Linked DNA regions of Homo sapiens: region 1 is linked to region 2. Evidence: promoter capture Hi-C in 16 types of primary human blood cells and fetal thymus (Javierre and others, 2016). All regions are on one chromosome and are shown on one strand. Each heading gives the region's core, a stretch centred on a gene start or on the middle of the fragment in contact. The rest is flanking DNA. Distances are from core to core; before and after follow the strand shown.

Evidence for each region. The method cuts DNA at HindIII sites, captures the fragments that hold promoters and counts their contacts. A CHiCAGO score of 5 or more calls a contact.
Region 1: a contact is called between a fragment that was not itself captured here and the fragment with the promoter of C11orf24 in region 2, in 1 of 17 cell types (endothelial precursors). The highest score is 5.5, in endothelial precursors.

The regions. Positions count from the first base shown.
Region 1 is chr11:68,541,413-68,546,680 of GRCh38, forward strand. It overlaps PPP6R3 (protein phosphatase 6 regulatory subunit 3), which reads left to right. Exons shown (of 24, transcript NM_001164161.2): 4 at 3,426-3,612. Among named protein-coding and RNA genes, the nearest start is that of PPP6R3, 83 kb to the left of the region's middle. RefSeq lists enhancers at 1,838-2,338, 2,339-2,839. The HindIII fragment of the contact is 781 bases long and covers 3,217-3,997 here.
Region 2 is chr11:68,270,661-68,275,535 of GRCh38, forward strand. It overlaps C11orf24 (chromosome 11 open reading frame 24), which reads right to left and starts at 1,313. Exons shown (of 4, transcript NM_022338.4): 1 at 1,197-1,313. It overlaps LOC105369363 (a long non-coding RNA gene), which reads left to right and starts at 1,442. Exons shown (of 3, transcript XR_950248.3): 1 at 1,442-1,516. RefSeq lists silencers at 1,111-1,510, 3,390-3,449 and an enhancer at 1,422-2,276. The HindIII fragment of the contact is 7,211 bases long and covers 3-4,875 here.

The sequences.
Region 1 (5,268 bases), core at 2,357-4,856, 270 kb after region 2:
ATGAAGTTAGAACTGAAGGGGTTTCCTCTAGGTATGGAATGGGAGATAAAGTGTCAAGAGTGACTATGAGGATTTTGGCCTGGGCAGTTAAGAGGATGGAGTGGCTTTATGGCAGTGAAATAAGATTGCAGAGGGAAAGGGCAGGAGTTTGGGTCTGGCCCTGTCACATTTGAAATGCCTGTTAGACATGAGGTGGAGATGAGGCCTAGTGGTAGGTGGACAGAGGACATGTAAAGCCACAAGGCTGAATGAGATCGCCTGCAGAGCTGATGGAGCTAGAAGAAAGCTTCTGAAACTGGAGATGGGTAGTGTGGGCTGGCCTGGGTTCCACTGAGGGATGGAGGAGTGATTGGATGCAAGAGGAGAACCTGGGGGCTGCTACCCTGGAAACCAAGGGAAGTCTGGCTTCAGGAAGGAGGGGGGACAGTGGGTTAGCGGTACTGCTCATAAGAAACCACTCAGTTTGTAACATGGAGATCATGGGCCCCATCAGTACAGGTTCTTTGGAGGGGCCCAGGTGAAAGCCTGGAGGCAAGCAGAGACAACTCTTTGAAGTGATTTCTTGTAACAGGAGCAGAGAGGAAGTGGTAGGTCGAGGCAGATTTGGAGTCAGGGGTGGTGTGGGGTTTTGTTTTTTCCTAAATGGAAGTGATGACCTGTGAGAACGTTGCAGCACAGAGGAAACACAGCCAGTGTGAGGGAGCAGGCCGCCGAGTGATGCATTGTGCTGGAGTGGGCGGGGGTGGGGGCATGTGGTCCAGAGCATACATGCAGGAGATGACCTCAGGAGCAAGGGCCACTCCCCTGGAGCGAGGAGGAAGTGCCCAGCTGTAGGTGGGGATGTGATAGGGCTGGGTTCCCTTCTGATTGCCTTCTCTGTGTTCTCAGGCAAAGGAAGCGAGGTCAGAGCCTATGGAGGAGGAGGGGTCTTGCCGAGGGTGGAGTGGAGGCATCTTTGGGTGCTTGAGAAGCTGCTGTTTTTTTTTTTTTTTTTTTTTTAAGACAGAGTCTTGCTCTGTCATCCAGGCTGGAGTGCAGTGGCGCAGTCACAGCTGGCTGCAACCTCTGCCTCCCAGGTTCAAGTGATTCCTGTGCCTCAGCCTCCTGAATAGCTGAGACTACAGGTGTGTGCCACCACACCTGGCTAATTTTTGTGTTTTTAGTAGAGATGGGGTTTTGCCACATTGGCCAGGCTGGTCATGAACTCCTGACCTCTGGTGATCCATCCATCTTGGCCTCCCAAAGTGCTGGGACTATTGGTGTGCGCCACCGCGCTCGGCCTTGAGAAGCTTCTTGAATGTTAAGGAGGGAGGGAAGGAGAGTAGCCCCAGCCTGTCTGGAACCAGAACTCTGAGCTTTTTGTGTAATGGCTAACATTATGCATGCTTCTTGAGTTAGGTCATACCACCCAGTCACCTAGAAAAAGTGAACAAATTTTAAAGTTGCTCATCTGGACTTTCTCTGTCAGAGTTTGGAGAAAACACTCATGCATTTGATTCACAGCCAGGAGTCCGCTTGCCTTTTACTGATCTTCTGTTTGTCAGCAGTTTCCACATTAAGACAGTTGAGTGAGTGCATCTCCCCAACCCACTCTAGCAGCATTCTGCCATTTTATAGTGAAAATAAAGAGGAATGAAAACAGCTGTCATTTATTAAACACTTATTTACTTTATGCCAGGCCCTCTTCCCAGCCTTTTTTACTCCCCTCCTCCATAAGATAAGGACTATTGTCTTAATCTTACTAACTTGGAAACTGAGGCCCAGAGAGGTTAAGTAACTTGTCCAAGGTTATACAGCATGTAAGTGGTAGAGGCCGGTTTTGAACTTAGCTAGTGTGACTCTAGTAGCTGCACCTGTAACCGCTGCATCAGCCCACTCCTGGGATAATGGGTACTTTACAGGGGTTTATATTCTGGCATCTTGAAGCCCATGCTACGTAAATTGAGGGAGGAGACTTTACTTCCCAAAGACCCATACATCTGCCAGGTCTGTTTTTTTTTTTTTCCTTTTCTGTTTTCTTTATACAAAGACTCATTTTGGGACCTTCTCATACTCTTCTGTCTTTAGGCCTCACACCAGAGCCTGTCAAGTGCCGTGGCTTTCTGGTTCGTCACCAGTGGTCTTTTTGTGCCAGGGTCTTGCTGCAGGCAGCACTTGCTTGCCTTGGATGCCCCAGGTGTGTCGTATACGTGTCCCTCCTGCCCCAGTCTTCCCTGGTTTCTTTTGTCATGCAGCCACGTTTGGCTATTTTGCCATCTCTCTGTCTTGCTCAGCTTTTGAGCTTGCCACTCCTGATGACTTGTTGGGGCGCTGGGTCCTGGCTGTCCAGCAGGGAGGAGTGTAAGAGCAGAGTAATTCTGGGTCAGCTAGAGTATCGTCTGGATAGGCTCAACGTCTCTGTTGTTGCTAGTGAAAACAGACACGAGATTGTCATAGTAGGAGTAAGTGGAGGAAATGGACCTGCTGCCTGTTTGCAGAGGGTCAGTGGTCTGGTTGTCAGAGGCAAGCATTTCTAAAGCCATGGGGTCTGTAGAAGAGCCTGTGTGGGTCCATATAGAGCAGGTGTCATGTTCTTAGCCGTGGGCCTTCTACAGGAGAGACAGCATGGTGAAGACTCATGGTGGGCTGACTTTGTGTCTGTGCTGATATCCAGATACTGGAAGGCTGATGTGGAGAGCACTAGTTTTGTTTTGTTTTGGTTTTGACACAAGGTCTCACTCTTGCCCAGGCTGGAGTGCAACAGTCATAGCTCTTTGTAGCCTCAAACTTGTGGGCTCAAGTGATCCTCTAATCTCAGCCTCCTAAATAGCTAGGACAACATTTTTTTTGTATACTGCTTCCTGCCTTGGTAGCCCAGGCTGATGTCCTGTTCCCCCCTTCATTATAGTAGGATGCTTACTCTCTTAAGATGTAATATAGACTTAGTACCATTTACAACCCATCTAAAGATAAAGGCTGGTCCAGGTCCCTACAGAGTGCCTTAAGTCATTACAAGGTGCTGCATGCAGTGCAGTTTCCTGGAAACCAGTGTCCTCCACAGTTGTCCGCAAGCTTTGCTGCTTCCCATGCCAGAGGAGGCTGTAGCCTGATGGCTCGTACGTCCAGCCGCTTTCCTCGCTGATCGTGGAGAAGGCCCGGGCCCTGCAGCATGACCTCTCTGGGCTTCTGAGTACTAGGTGCGCTCTAGTTTCTTCAGGGAAAATGTATTCTTGTTAAAGCTTGGTTTAAAAACAATTTTTTAGATAGTAGAAAATTTATTTTAGTCTGGAGGTAGGTTGAACAGAATGGATTGAAATGATTTCCTGATTTCCAGTAAACGATTTTATTTTTTTCACAAAATCTTGGGAAGCCTTTCTGATTTGTGTTTATCTTTATGTAATTAAACTGTTAATAAAGATGATGATGTAAATATCCTGTTCTTCTAGGTATCCAAATATATCTTGTGAGTTGCTCACTTCTGATGTCTCCCAGATGAATGATAGACTGGGAGAAGATGAATCCTTGCTAATGAAATTATATAGCTTCCTCCTAAACGATTCCCCTTTGAATCCACTACTTGCCAGTTTCTTCAGCAAGGTGCTAAGTATTCTTATCAGCAGAAAACCAGAACAGGTAAATATGATTTTCCAAAAGGTAAGTATTAGGGCTGATCATCCCCTTGAGGTGATCCCCCAGTACTTGTTGCTTTAAGAGTTCTAACTTTGCCTTAAGTTCAGGTTGTATAAGAGAATGTATTTTAAACCTTAAACATTCTAAGCACTCACATACTATTTGTATGTTAATGAATATTTCTAATATGGCATAATCTCAAATTTCACTTAATTTGTTAGCATACTTTAGTTTCCTCTTTTGAGAAGTGGGTAGAAGATGAGAATATTGGGTACCCATTTGTGAAGACAGGGCTTAACTAAGATGGCAAGTATAATAACTAAGCAGTTGAATATGTCACCAAACAATTGCTTTGTTTTGTTTTTCCCCCATTGATGATCAGAGATGAAGCTTAAACCAAAAACCTTTCCCACAAATGTAATTGGTGATTGGTTTGTACTAATGGTGATTCTGTTTTGATTCTACTCAAAACTTCTCCAGTGTCAGGCTTGAGACATCTGAGTGTATAGACTGCTGTGTACATTTGCAGCTGTGCTGTTCCTATCCAGTGTGGTTTGACAGAAACTTCACTTGGTTCTCTAAGTGTGGTCCCTGAACCAGCAGCCCCTCAGTATTACCTGAGAATTTGTTAGAAATGTAAGTTCTTGAGTCCTATTCCAGACCTGCTGAATCAGAAACTCTGAGAGATGGGCCCAGCAGTCTGGGTTTTAGCAAGCCTTCCAGCTAACTCTGATGCATGCTAACATTTGAGAACCACCGCTTTAGTGGATATTGTTGTGAAAAAGGATCTGCTTATCTGGAGATTTTAGTCATTTTATGGAAATAGGCACTCAGGGAACAACTAGAGCCTCAGATATTCAAGTATAAACTATAGCAGATTTGCCAGAATTGCAAGTATAGGTGTGATGATACGGGGCAAAAGTGGTCAAACCAGTTGGTCCTGCCATCCTTCATGATAGAAAATGGCTCTGGGTGACCCATTGTTGCTATCAGCACTTGTGGAAGGACTGGAGCTATTTTGGGCCCAGTGTGTCCTGTCCTATGCCAAGGCAAAGTGGATACATGCTTTATTTTAGAAAGAGATATTTCTTTCTTTCACTTAATGGAGTAGGATAAGCTTTCTAAGTTGATTGGAAATGAGATTCTTTTCACTTTGGTAATAATCCCCAAATCATGATTAATGTAGATTGTCTCTTTTTTTCTGCCTTCTAGTTAGAAATACAAGAACTGCTGGCTGTTTTAGGAGAGTGGAAGCCATCCTATCACCCTGATATTACCAGGCAGTTCTCAGGGATGGTTGTTGTAGCCATTATCCAGACATTATGCTTCATTGTGCTTTTTCTCCTCACTTCTGTGCTGTTGGAATCCAAGTTGGCGAGCCCCGATTTTCAGTGTACACATAAAGAGAGAGAATACACTTAAAACCTTGCCAGTTATGTTCTGAGACAAGAGCCCTTCGGCCTTTTGCTTGTTACACTTCCCTGTCAGGACTGTATGAATGATAGCAAGAGGATTCAGTGGCTGTGAGTTAAGATCAAACTTGGCATTTCTTTATCCTTTGCCAATTAGGAGTGTAAATAAAGGTTTTCTGTTATGTGATAGTATTAGTAGGGGTGTATGCAACTGTAAGGACAAAAATTGAGACTCAACTGGCTTAAC
Region 2 (4,875 bases), core at 63-2,562:
GAAGCTTGGTAAAGGACTACAGCTGTTACCCCCACATTCTATCAGGCTATTAAGACTCACTCAGCCGCAACATGGCCAGGCCCCCACACCAAGTTAGGCAAGCTACAGATACCAAGGAGTAGGAACTGCAAACACAAATACAGGGCAAACTGCAGGTACCTAATCCTGACACGTCACCTGGCTGAACTTTGGTAGCAGAAGCCCAAGGAACACAGACTTATGGCTTTGTGTATATAGACATTGTCCTGTAGTCCAAAGGATGTGACTCTGTGGCAGACGGGAACCTAGAACATTGGACATTTATTATATTACATTAACTACCTTGCTTGCTTCCAGGTTTCTGGAAGTTTTGGTAACACAGCTAAATACTAGGGCCTAGTTTTTGCTAAGAACGTGGGTAGCTCTGACATTCCTTTGTCCATTAGGCAGATCCACTGTATAAATGGAAACATCTGTATTTTAAAGATTTTCCTAGCTGATTTTATCGAAATGTTAGAGATTTTCCTGGGGCGAGGGATAGCTGCAAGTTATTACAGTCAGATTTCTAAGCACGATGATTATTTCTGGTGGCAAACCATGCGTGTGGAGGCCGATTCCTCCTATCAGCCTAACGATTAAGTCAACATGCTAAGCAGCCACACGGGGGCTACTAAGTGACTCGCACGGGGGAAGCAGGCAGGGAGACAGATGGGCAGGGGAGGGAATCTGGGGCAATGCACAACCTCCACCCAGGTAGAGAGAGGGTCTGGGGGATAGGTCTGTGTCACTCAAGTAAGAGCGACACTTCTTGGGGTCCAGTCCCGTCCTGGGCTTGCCCGGGAAAGACCCCAGGACAAATTCGGCCCCCTTCCAGAGTGTCCCCATTCTGCTCCCACAATGGGACAAGCCGGCCTCTTCTCCAGTCTGGGCCCCCTTCGGCCCTCCTCCCTCCTCCTGTCTCTTGGGCCCCCAGCCATGCTCGGCCCCCAGTTGACTTCTTCAGTACCTGCATTGCTCAGCGTCTTGCACTCTGTGCGTGCCCCATCCGCCGCTCCTCCTGTCCCGTTCCTCCTGCCTCTCTCAGCCCCACTCACTCTCCCACTGCCCCTCGTGCCCCCATCCAACCCTCCTCCTGCCCCCCAACCTCTGTCTCTCAGTCCCAAGCCAGTCAGGGAGCCCTGACAGCAGCTACCCGGACGGCAGTGCGAGCCCCTTACCCGGGCGCAGCAGGCCCCCGGCGGCCTGGTGGCCCTCGGACAGTAGGAAGGAGCCTGAGGCCCGGCGCGGGGACGTGGCCGGCAGCGCAACCCAGGCAGCTCCGGGCAGCGCGCCCTGCCCGGGCCCCGCCCAAACGCCGGAAATGACGTCACGGAGGGCGGGGCGGGCCTGCTGGCCGGGGCGAAGAGCGGCTGCGGCGGGGCCTGTGGCGAACGGAGGCGAGCCGGAAGTGGGGGGGTTGTCTGCTCTCAGGCCCCGCCTCCCCGGGGCCGGCTCGGGCCACTTCTTGCGCGCTGCCAGAAGGAGCTATTTTGAGCAGGTCTGTGGCGGAAGTGGGTGTTCCCGGGTCTCTGCTGCCCAGCTGTGCCCGCTGCCGTCTTGGGGTCCCGGGGTGCGCGGGTTGGGCTGGGTGAGCTCAGAGGCACCTTGTCGGCAGCCGAGCCTGAAGAGGCGACCTCGAAACGCCTCGTGAGACCTTTCGCGGGCACACGCCCTTCGCGTTCCTCCGCTTCCTCCCACGTTTCTTCAGCCCCTGGCGGGGCGCTGGGGTGCCCGGTAGTTAAGGGTGGGGTGGCAGCGAGCGTTTCTGTGCACCCGCAGCGTGCCACGCCCGTGCTAAGCACTTTGCCTATAGAGCCAGTGGCTTAATTCTGCAATAGCACAGTGAAGAACTTCGCCTCATTTTACAGACGTGGAAACAGGCTCATCAAGTGCTCTGTAATTGTAAAACCTGGGATAACAAAGGAGCAAAACGCAATTTAGAGGCAAGTGTGTGGGACTTGACTTTGGTTAGAAATAGGCTTTGCAGGCCAGGCGCGGTGGCTCTTGCCTGTAATCCTAGCACTTTGGGAGGCCGAGACGGGCGGATTATCTGAGCTCAGGAGTTCGAGACCAGCCTGGGCAACATGGTGAAACCCTGTGTCTACTAAAATACAAAAAATTAGCCGGGCGTGGTGGCGTGCGCCTGTAGTCCCAGCTACTCGGGAGGCTGAGGCAGGAGAATTGCTTGAACCTGGGAGGTGGAGGTTGAAGTGAGCAGAGATCGTGCCACTGCACTCCAGCCTGGGCGACAGAGCGAGACTCTGTCTCCAAAAAAAAAAAAGAAAGAAAGAAATAGGCTTTGCAAGTTAGTAGTTCTGTGACTGAATCCCAGTCTGTATAAGACCCTCAGGCATCCCCCGGTCCAAACCAAAACCTGTCTGCGAAGGATGATTTCACAGGAGCAAACCAAGACTTTATTTCCAGTTTTATAACCTGCCTTGGGGTCTTCGGCTAGGAAGCTAAGAGACACAGAAAGCTGAGATTGGGCAAAGACAGGATCTACCATCCACTCCGAGCTCTGGGAGCACCTGAAATGCGATTTGATGTCACCACCACCATCCCCAGTTCAACCACAGTTCATGTGTGGAATTTAACCTGCAAAGTTGGGTTTGCTGAGACCCAACGCCGGTTGGATCATGTGAAGATCAGATCCTTTCACTATGTATTTGCTTTAATTTTTCCAACTAGTTCGGATCTAACATGAAGTACAGTATTGAGGCTCACTCCAGAAGTGAAAATATACAATCGGCAGGCAGATTTTAGTTCTTTGCCTGCCCTTTTCAAAAATCAATGACTGGGCTGGGCGCGGTGGCTCACGCCTGTAATCCCAACATTTTGGGAGGCCAAGGCGGGCGGATCACCTGAGGTCAGGAGTTTGAGACCAGCCTGACCGATATGGTGAAACCCGTCTCTACTAAAAATATAAAAATTAGCCAGGCGTGGTGGCGTGTGCCTGTATTCCCAGCTACTCGGGAGTCTGAGACAGGAAAATTGCTTGAACTTGGGAGGGGGAGGCTTCAGTGAGCCGAGATCTCACCACTGCACTCCAGCCTGGGCGACAGAGCGAGACTCCTTCTAAAAAAAAAAAAAAAAAAAAAAAAAAAAATCAATGACTGTGACTCTGTTTTCATTTCCTCTTTGGCAACATAGGGACAATTTTTACTGCTGGGGCTGAAATTACAAACATAAGACACAGCCTCTCCTCTAGAGCAGCTGGGCAGCTAGACCTCCATCTGCTTGCTTTTTTTTTTTTTTTTTAGACACGGAGTCTTGCTCTGTCGCCCAGGCTGGAGTGCAGTGGCGCCATCTCGGCTCACTGTAAGCCCCGCCTCACGGGTTCACGCCGTTCTTCTGCCTCAGCCTCCCGAGTAGCTGGGACTACAGGCGCCCGCCACCACGCCCAGCTAATTTTTTGTATTTTTAGTAGAGACGGGGTTTCACCATGTTAGCCAGGATGGTCTTGATCTCCTGACCTAGTGATCCGCCCGCCTTGGACTCCCAAAGTGTTGGGATTACAGGCGTGAGCCACCGCGCCCAGCCCATCTGCTTTCTTAAATTTCTATTGGAACAGAGTCATGCCTCTTCATTAGGTATTATCTGATGATAAAAGGGCACAGTCGACTAGTTGTAGAGACTATATGGCTCACAAGTCCTAAAATATTTACTCTCTGGCCCTTTACAGAATCTATTTGCTGATCTCCAGTCTAGAGTGTTACTGATGGGTTTCTGACACAGAAATATCTGGCTGAGATGGTCCAACATACCGGGAAACTCATTCTCTCCTATGAGAAAGTCATATTCTCTGATAGCATCTTTGGTCACCTGAAACCTAGTGTCCATTGAAGGCACAGCTCTGGGAACTGCAAAACTGTTCTGTGGAGTGTTATGGAGAGTAAAGCCAGGCAGACCAGCTGCTTCTGAGGGCTGTGGATAAAATAGAGAATGATACACTTACATCCTCTACCTTTTGTTTCCAGGCACAGATCATTTCAGGTGCCTTCTGTGCAGAAATAGCTGAATAAACTTGGAGCTTGGTCTCTTTGTTGTTGAATTTACAATGTTATTTGAATGTAAGACCTTGTAGATATGACATTTGAAAGTTAGGGCTCTGGAATGGCACTGCCTGGCTTCAGATCCTTCATTTTTTTGCTAAATGACAACAAACAAGAGGCTTAGGCTCTGTGCCTCCGTTTCATCATAGTCAATTCTGGTATTTGCAGTAGTTATGTTGAATAAAGTCACCCAGTACACGGACTTAGCAAATACTGCTCCTTGGAAACCACAGCTCCTAGGGAAGATACAGGGTTAGGTTCCTGTGAACCTCTGATCACAACATTTTTATCAACAGATCAATATACATAACTTTGTTTTTGTGTGTGTGTTTCTATTAAAGATGCTTTATTTAGGCCAGACACAGTGGCTCATGCCTATAATCCCAGCACTTCGGGAGGCCGAGGCAGATGGATCACCTGAGGTCAGGAGTTCAAGACCAGCCTGGCCAACATGGTGGAACCCTATCTCCACTAAAATCACAAAAATTAGCCAAGTGTGGTGGCCCATGCCTATAGTCCCAGCTACTGGGGAGGCTGAGGCAGGAGAATCACTTGAACCCGGGAGGTGGAGGCTACGGTGAGCCAAGATCACGCCATTGTACTCCAGCCTGGGCAACAGAGCGAGACTTCATCTCAAACAAAACAAAACAGAAACAAACAAAAAGAAGCCTTATTTAATGTCTATTATTGACTCATTAATTAACATTGAAAATGAGATGGGAATAATATAGGGTGGTCACAGGAGAATTAAATTCCAGGCAGCAGTTTTACATAACTAGAGACTATCGTCTTCTAAGACCCTGAA